2 separate regions of the Homo sapiens genome follow, and region 2 is linked to region 1. The links are contacts of gene promoters, found by promoter capture Hi-C in human tissues and cell types (Jung and others, 2019). All regions are on one chromosome and are shown on one strand. Each heading gives the region's core, a stretch centred on a gene start or on the middle of the fragment in contact. The rest is flanking DNA. Distances are from core to core; before and after follow the strand shown. Region 1 holds the start of CLRN1 (clarin 1). Region 2 holds the start of LOC124909448 (a long non-coding RNA gene).

Region 1 (4,660 bases), core at 824-3,323:
TGAACAAGTAAATGGAAGATTTTCTTCACTAGGCTAGGGGGAGAATGTCAGGGGTATCTGGGAGCTAATGAAATTCTGTGAGATAAGTGAGGGTACTGTTTAAACCCCACCAGTTCTGCAAGTCCTCACAGAAAGCAAAAGGAGGGGCACCCAATTAGAACAACTTCATCCTTAGACAGGACAAGCATAGGACACAACCACAAAAATCATTCGCTAAACCCCAGAAGAATGTGGCTGTGTAAGGATTAAATGAGACAAAGCATATAAAGTGCTTAGTATGTAGTAAGTGTTCAGAAAACATCTTATTATTGTTTTGAAACATGTCCTATGGCATGAGTAAAGTTTATCTCCATTTCACTGTAGAAAATGTAAAGGCTCCAGAAAATTCACCAGTACCTTCTCCGCTTTTGTCTAAATTCATCTGTGAGAAGCTTTACTCACGCTTTGGCTGCCGGTGACTCACGGTTAAATCATCTCTCTCAACTTTTTTCCTTTTCGGTTTTTTAATACAGTTGCATATCACATGACATTCTGCTTTGTTTTCTTCCTTCCCCTTCCCCAGGAAAACTAAGCAACTCTAACAGCCCCATTACCTTAATGAATAAAAGCCATTCAGTGAAAAGAACTGGTATCCACTTCATCAATTAAAAAGCTAACAACCAATTCTTGGAAATTTTCTGGAGCCCTATGAAAATTCATATCACTTAGTAACCTATGTGAGCTGAAGGTTGGTGTCCAATGACTGCTAAGAAGATATAAGGAATGTTGCAGAAATATAAATAGACCAGCACTGAAATTTAATTAGGCACTGCATATGTTAATAATAAATTCAATTAATTTAGCCTTCTACCTATACTAGAAAGAAAAAAAAAACCTGGGCAAAATAATAATTCATTTTAAATGCTTCAGTTGGTAACCTCCTTTCCTGAAGAGTGATTTATGCAGTAATTTACTGACTGTGTCTTCATAAGGTTGTTCCAAACCAGCCCTTCTGAAATAATAATAACTTCTGAATGTGTGTTGTAAGAGATATAACAAATGACTTCCTATTAATTTTCATTTAATGAGTTGCCTATTCACATGGTAATTTTTAAAAATTCTCTTCTTAAGATAAACAGGTTATAAATACTGTGGATTACACTTCCATTTCACAAAAATCACAACAAGAAAATCTCTCTCATATTCTCTACATGATTTGCAGGTCAATCAGTTTAAAATGTTCTATACTAAATAGGCATCCATTTCTTTCCCAGTTAGCACAGCAGATCATTTTAAATTTCTATAGCCAAATGATTCCAAATTAGTTAAAAATGAAAACTGAATATTTAGCAGCAGGAAAGGTCTTAGCAGGAATAATGGGAGGGAGTGGGGAGCAGGAAACAAAATCATGAGAAAGGTGGCAACCTGGTTAAATACGGAGCCCATGACCTTGGTTCTTTTTATAAAGAACAAAAAGCATAAAGATCATTCTTTACAGCTTTCCTATTTCCCCAAGTTTACTTTTTTAAAAAGACTCCATAATTTTTTACATAAATATTAATACTTAAGCATCTTAATTGCCAATATTTCCAAAAACCTTAATTATGTAACAATGAATTAACTCTATATTATAATAAAAAGCAAGTATAAAATAATAAAAACTAGGAAGAAGAAATTGCTCAGAGTCATAGGTTTTTCATATGGTTCACACCGATTTAAAAAGTCCTGCAGTAAACACGGCAAAATTCTCAAATATAATTCCTCGCAACACTGGGAAGAGTCTGCCTAAAGCATTAAATAACTCAAATGCAATTGCTACTTACATGAGAACCGAAAGGGCCTTGCTCCCAACCCACACTGCCTCACACCCTCTCCGTGGAAAAGCCCGTACTGCATTTCACCCATAAACTTGTCCAGCTCCTGCCCTGAGGCATTGACGAGCAGAGCTCCCGTTTTGCAGAGGACAGTGGCTTTGATCCACAACGGTGTCCCCAAGGCTGTCACAACTCCGAGGGCACATGCAAAACTGAACACTCCGGCCATGCAAAAAATGATTTTCTTCTGTTGGCTTGGCATGATGAGAAACGGCTTCTGTGAGGGCGAGGTTCAAAAACAAGACCTTTGTGAGCAATGGGAAGGGACTGCCTCTTTGACTGCATTTATTACGGAAGCTGAACGGACAGCTCCCAGCTGAAAAGGCAACTTCACCATCGACGGTTCTCGCCAGGTTAAATGTCAGTAGATGAAGGCCTCATCATCACTCATACTTGGCTTTTCTCCTTTTCTGCTGCTTCTTCTCCCTAATTGGAAATCTTTGGACTAAGAATCTGTAAAACAAGTCTTTCAAACTGCCTTCAAGTATCTCCTCTGTGTCACTTGGTAACAAAGGTCGAAGATAACAGATGGAGTCCTCAGTGTAACTTGATAAATGTTTCCCTTCCTCAGCCTTTTGTCTGATTGGGTGAGTTGAAACTTTCAGAAACAGGCTTGAATCTGATGGTACATTTTCAGCAACTTGAGAAGTTCACTTATCGATGTTTTTATTTTTGTTTTTTGTTTGTTATTGTTTTTGGTGGTGGGGGAAGGAGCTTTAGCAGAGGTAGGGAGAACATATGTACCTGTATTGATAGTTGATGTCAAAAATTTTTAATTACAGCAGGATAAAAATATTAAACAGAATTTGGTCCTACACGAATATTAAGTGCTCTGGATCAACCATGGGTCCTTGTCCTTCCAACTTAATTTCTCCCAGATCCATGGTTTATACCTAATGTATCAATAGAGAATTTGATTCAAATTTTTCTTGGCATACAGAAATATGAAAATGCAGGAGCAGATATCTAGATTTCTAAATGCTTTCCTTTAACAGGCTTAGCTGCTTTAGGATAATAGCAAGGGAATGTGTTTCTGGGTCCAAGGAATACCAGGATCTGTAAAGATAAGGGCATATTGATGGAAAGAGGGATGGTGGTCAGATAGGTGACTCTATGGATTCATCATAAAAATGCACAGGTCTCAGCAAAGGTAATCTGTTTGGGAGACTAGAGACAGTTATGAGCAAAGATTAAGCAGCAGGTAGGTCTGGTTAAACGGTCAAGACCTGGAAACTAAAGTTCAGAATTCAGTAACAGCTTTTTAACTTTGCATTTCCAATGAGATTCCTCCTTCTACAGACACAGGACTGTGTGTGTGTGTGTGTGTGTGTGTGTGTGTGTGTGTGTGTGTGTGAAGTGTCTAGTGAATGTTTATTATATGCCATGTTATTGTCCTGAGCTCTGACCTACAAAGTTAATGTTTAGTAAGAACTTATGTCTGGCAACTTGTGAAGTATTCTACCTAAATTATCATATGTAATTCTCATAATTAGCATATAAAGTAATGAAGAAGAGGAAGAAGAAGAGGAGGGAGGAGGAGAAGAAGGAGGAGGAGGAGGAGAAAGGAAGAAGGAAGAAGAATAAGAAAGAAGAAAGAAGAAGAAAAAGCAATTATTCGTATCTTATATATAAGGGAATTGAGGCTCAGAGAGTTTAAGCAACTTGCTGAAGAGAGTAGTGGAGCTGGGATTCAAATCCAGGTCTTCTACTTCTGAGGTTGATGTTCTATTCCAAGCAAAGCCCCTGACCTTGAAAAGATGGCAAACATTTCAGTTTGGGTTGGGTTCGTCTAGGAGTAACAGGGGCAGACTAGCCCATTATTAGTTACACATATTGAGTGTTTGAAGAACACAGACATCAGTAAATAGAACTTTTTCAGTTGGCCAAAAGCACATGTGTATGCTAGCTTCTATTCTTTTGATCCACCTTTAAGCATGACAGCTTAGAGGAAATTAATAAATGAAGACTTATTTCACACCATTTTCAGCATAAATGAGTCTCTACATTATGCACACTTCGAAGGGAACTTTGAGGTATAGACTCGGAGTACTGGTAAACTTCTCTCACAGCTCGCCTCTCCTAGGAGTCGCAACAGCCAGTCTCGTTAAGGACAGACAACTAAGTATAGAACTCATTCTAGAATGCCAATGTACCTTCGGGGAGAAGAGGGGCAATATAAAACATGGCCACAGAAGAACTGGGCATATAGAAGATTCCAAAGAGGCACTTAAAATAAAGTTTACAATATTAGTAAGTCTTTTTTATTTTGTATAACTTAACACAGAATAAGCAACTCATCCCAGTTTATTTGGCCTTCCAATGAATTCACCACTGGATTTAGAATAATTGCTAGAACACAGAATAAGCAACTCATCTCAGTTTATTTGGCCCTCCAATGAATTCACCACTGGATTTAGAATAATCGCTATCATGGTCCACTAGCAAAACAAGGGGGTGCCAGTGCCCCTGATAAGTGGTTATTTGGGCATATATGTGCCACAGTCACCCTAGAAAACTTAGTTTAAGATGTCTAAGCAGAGCTGAGCTTACTAAATCAACATATTCTGTAATTGGAAGAGACAGAACATTTCCAAAGCCTGGGAGAAGAAATCACCTACAACTTAATCAATACTATTAATAACCTCTACTAAAGGATATGGCAAGAGAAGGATAGTTAGCATAGGACAGCGGTTTAATTAACCCAAACTCAGCCAAGTATATCTAAAGCTGTCCAAGGAGGAAAGCCTTGATTATGGGTGTAGAGAGCAATTAGATCACATCAGTTGCATCAGTTTGCATCAGTCTGT
Region 2 (4,660 bases), core at 737-3,236, 110 kb after region 1:
GAAGATGGAGTCCTAGAACACCAACAGAATTGGTTTTCATTGACTTAGAGCAAGAATGAGGGTTGGAAACAAGCTATCCATGGCTTAACAGGGTTGGGGTCAGCCAGTGTCCACCCAGAGTCCCTGAATATTATTAATGCAGCTCATCTAACACAACATGTAGCCAGCAGCCTAAGAAAAGAATCACAGACACTCCAACCCCTCTTGCTCTGGCTTCTTCTCTTACTCTCACTACCACTCCGTACTTTCCCCCACCAAATTCATCATGGGGATGTCCCTCAGGCTTGATGGTTGAATAGTGCTTCTTCTGTTTTGGCCCCTGGCTGGTTAGATTTAGCTTGTACTCATTCTCAGACTCTTCAGGCTTTTCACCACTTGGGAAAAAATTCCTACCCTGAATATTCTTGGCTCCAGGCCTTCATACCCACCCACCTGGCCTGCATTCTTGGTCCAACACACAGCAACAACCTTTAAGAGAGGGCTGATCATTTTGTCATGAACCCACTGCTCCAAGGGCAAGCCTGTTGCTATGGCAACATGGATGATCTAGCAGGCTCACGGCTGTCACTCTGCTTTGGGACTAAGGACTTAGGGAGGGGAACACTAGCCTCCTTGGGGAGACAACAGCCCTTGTGGGCCAATTACCAGAAAAGAGAGCAAAATGCCTCCCTCATCCTGCCCTAGCAGGCCCTGTGGCCTTCAGTTCCTCCCCGCCTCCTTCAGGTTGCTTCTATTTCTGACCCCAGAGAGATTTAAAGGGAATCCAGATAAATTGCCAGGTTTCATTATTCAGCTTTAAACCTGCACATGGATTCTCTAGAGAGCTGAAAGGGATGACATTTCTCCTTTTTTTCCTAACCAAGGATGTGGAAAGATGATGGTTCCACTGGTGCAACCTGGTAATCCCTCTGCGAAGATAACAAGGTTTCTGACCTCAAAGAGACTTGGAGACCAAATCTTCCATGGATCTCACTTCTGTTCATGCTGGTCTAGGTTCAAAGTGTAGCCTCTACCCCTATGCCCACATAGTCAACTGATCCACTTCCACGCTATCGTCCTCATGAAGCTTTGCACGTCTTTCTGCCCCAGGCTTCCATCCCTTATCTCCTTTTCATTCTCTTCCACTCTGGCCTCTTGAATCCTTTCCCCATAGCTAGCAAATTGCCATACCTATACAGTTTCTTTTCTAACACTCTCACCTCCTTCCTCCTACCTTGGGAAAGCTGGCCTCTTCCCTTGGAGCACTGCTTTTCCTGCACCCCTCTTACCTTTGTATTTCAGTTCAACCAGGTGGGTTAATATCTATGGGGAATATATTACATTATGAATAATAGAAAAGTCACTAACACTGGTTTCATTAAGTAGGGCTCATTCTTCACATAACCAGATACCTGGTTGTAGATGGCTGTTGGTATTGGTTCAGTGGCCACTTGAAATCAGGGCTCATCTCTGGGGTTGTCTTGCCTTTTCCTCATACCATATTTCTAACTTCTTGGTCACAATATGGCCATTGTAGTCTAGACTTCATGACTAAATTCCAGGCGAGAAGAGAAAAGGAGCTAAAGGGTGTTGCCTGCATCAGGAAAGAAAAACATTCTCAGAATCCCTAGAGAAGTTAAGCTTATGTCTCATTGGCTAGAAGTGTGCCACATGGCCATCCCTAGATGTAAGGTAATCTAGGAAGGTAGGTGTATTTAGCTGGCATATTGTACCCCAGAACAAATTCAAGATTTCGTTACTAAGGAAGAAAAGGGATAAAGATAAAGATATCGGGCAGAGAACAAGCAGTGTCTGCCACAGTGTCTGCTTCACTCCCCCACATTATATTTCACTGTCTTGTTAAAAACCATTCTCCTTTGATCTTATGCCATTCAGCTATTCTGCCCTACCTCCCCCCATCCACTGTTGGTGCTGTCATCTAATGGGGGGTCCTCGCGTTCATTATGTACCTTGGCAATGGGCAAAAAGCCAACCATTCTGCAGGGCAAGCCAATTGCCTGCCTCCTACACACAAGCCTTGATCCGTCTTGATGACAACTTGGTTCTCAGCTCTTCTTCCTCTCTGCTCTCATCCTTACTCAGCCAGTCTCTACTCTCATCTTCTGTTTCAGTCTAGCTGTCACAGCCTCTATAGCCTCCATTTACTACTGCTCAGAAAGGACTCCCTTTGTCTCTTCGTACTCAAGATGCCCCAACTTGAACTTAATGTCTATTTTGCTCATCACCACACTCCCAGCTGGCCCCTGCTTCCTGTTAGCAAAACTGGACCAGGTGGCTGAGGTTCCAGGGGTCAGGAGACCCTAACTTCTCCAGGCTCCTTTGCTGATCTGACACATTTCTCCATCTTGGTTTGCAACATCCTCTCCGAGACAATTTTTATATTCACTCTGCAGTTCCGCATACCACAACTGTAGCCAAGAGGTGTTTTCCTTTCTCTCCTATTTGTTAACAGCCCTGGGAAGAGGCATAGTGGTGAGAATGTTGGGCAATGTTTTAACAATACTAATAAAAAATACTATTATATAAAGGATCCATGTAATTGATTTGTGCACTATTCCCCAAATGCTACTGAGAGCAAAGTGTTGGCAGCGTTTATTTTTTACTGCTTAGAATTTAAACTTTAGATTTAGCAAACAGTAGGTACCAAACAGTCTTAGATATATCCAGTAGAGAGGGGAAAAAAGAATTTATTCTTATATAAAATTTGACCCTGTTACATTTAGTTCATCATTTTAATCCATCAAGATATTTTGTTTACTATACAGATTCTGCCATCTAATATATTTTCCACGCTTTCTTGCTCTGTGTGACTGCAGCAGATAGATAAGAAAGTATAAGAGGATGTCCCTAGAACTTGGAGAAAAATATTTCTCTGAGAACCGAAATATCTCATAATGAATAGTTATCAGATTATAATTTTCATCAGATGTAACCCATCCTAACAGGTTAGTTACAATCTGAAACTAACTGATGATAAAGACTGGATCCTTAACTGGTTAACAATAAAAAAGTAGTAACATAATCAATTATTGTATAACTGAAAAGTAATCTCTCTCTCTCTCCTTTCCCAACAGGAAAGTCTGAAGCCAGGCCTGCTTAGCAGAGGTCTCCGTATAGTAGGGATCTCACTCTTTCAAGATGTAGGATCTCAACTGGTTAGCCAGCCCTCTGAGTGAAGCTGGTCAGTTGGGGCTGTGACAACATAGCACACTCAAAGGGGCAGACCCTTCTCAGCTCCAACAGATTGGTGTCATTGGAAAAGGTGGACCCAGTGTAGGCAGACTTTCCTAGAGAGTCCAGAAGTGACTGTGCAAGCCCAAAGCAATCCAAACAAATATTTGTGGACCACCAAGAACCTCTGGTATGAAGTAAATAATAAAGGCATTGAACAATAATAACCTGTCTGTATATCCACCAATGGGACCGATGGGCCACAGTGTGACATCTATCCTATTCATGTCATAAGGGAGATGAATTCTACTGTGGGACAGTCTGTGTGACTGCTCGTAGGAGATTATCCAATTCCTTTTGCTCTAATTTCATGGTCACCAAATTTCTGCTTGCTAACTTTGTTTTACAACAAACTTTAGAAAGGAGGTGATCTGAATAAGAGGATATATGTTTTTCAGTCTCTGGAAAGGGGTATTTCTTTGTATTGAGAAGCCAGAACTCTTGAGTGTGTTGAGCCTTGTAGAGATTGAACCACTCTGGGTCAGCTGACAAAATAAGATTCTGGTGCTGAAAAGCTGAGTATGTGACCATGATATTAACAGTGACCTAAGTTTGTGTGGCCCCCTTCGTTCTCCAGAAACCAACCAGTCAGCCTTCATTTTGTAAATGTAGCAGACACCATTTTGCTAGTGAATGAGGTTAAATCTTTAGCCTTGTCATTGGTTCGGCTTTGTAATTTAAAACTCTCTTATTTTACCCTCTGATTTTAAATCCCCAGATTTTCCTTTCTGTGTCCTTTGCCCCCTGAAGTTTCCATCTGTCTAGCAACTAAGCACTGTTTGGGTATCTACTGTCTTCCCCAAGTTGCCTTTACTTTTCTTCTTTACCTTTCTCTTGTTTTATTTATTTCTTTCTTTTTTTGAAATGGAGTCTTGCTCTGTCACCCAGGCGGGAATGCAGTGGCGCAATCTCGGCTCATTGCAACCTCCACCTCCCGGGTTCAAGCAGTTCTCCTGCCTCAGCCTAATGAGTAGCTGGAATTACAGGTGTGCACCCCCATACCTGACTAAGTTTTGTATTTTCAGTAGAGACGGGGTTTCACCATGTTGGCCGGGCTGGACTTGAACTCCTAACCTCAGGTGATCCGCCCTCCTTGGCCTCCCAAAGTGCTGGGATTACAGGCATGAGCCACCACACACAGCCTCTCTTGTTTTACTTCTGTCATTACTTTTTGTTCTTTTAATTTGGAAACCCACCTGCTTCCTCAGTGTCATTATTAAAAACCCACATGTTACAGGTTCATTAGGACTGAAACATTCCTTCAGAGCTGAGCTGACCAACATGTTAGCCACTAGCCACATGTGACTATTGCATACATGAAATGCAAAATGTGGCTGGTCTGAAATGATGGTATAGGTATGAAATTCACACAAGATTTAGAATACTGAAGATAAAAAAGAATGTAAAGTATCTCATTAATACTTTTTTT

What was found. The method cuts DNA at HindIII sites, captures the fragments that hold promoters and counts their contacts. A contact is called where the count stands out against the background at its distance.
Region 2: a contact is called between a fragment that was not itself captured here and the fragment with the promoter of CLRN1 in region 1, in 2 of the 25 tissues and cell types used here (H1 embryonic stem cells and adrenal gland).

Annotation. Positions count from the first base shown.
Region 1 is chr3:150,970,654-150,975,313 of GRCh38, forward strand. It overlaps CLRN1 (clarin 1), which reads right to left and starts at 2,074. Exons shown (of 3, transcript NM_174878.3): 1 at 1,803-2,074. The coding sequence starts at 2,055. CLRN1-AS1 (CLRN1 antisense RNA 1) reads left to right here and starts at 2,025. Exons shown (of 6, transcript NR_024066.2): 1 at 2,025-2,440. The HindIII fragment of the contact is 11,205 bases long and covers 1-4,660 here.
Region 2 is chr3:151,075,815-151,080,474 of GRCh38, forward strand. CLRN1-AS1 (CLRN1 antisense RNA 1) reads left to right here. Exons shown (of 6, transcript NR_024066.2): 6 at 3,075-4,660. LOC124909448 (a long non-coding RNA gene) reads right to left here and starts at 1,556. Exons shown (of 2, transcript XR_007096133.1): 1 at 1,392-1,556; 2 at 1-12. The HindIII fragment of the contact is 5,315 bases long and covers 1-4,644 here.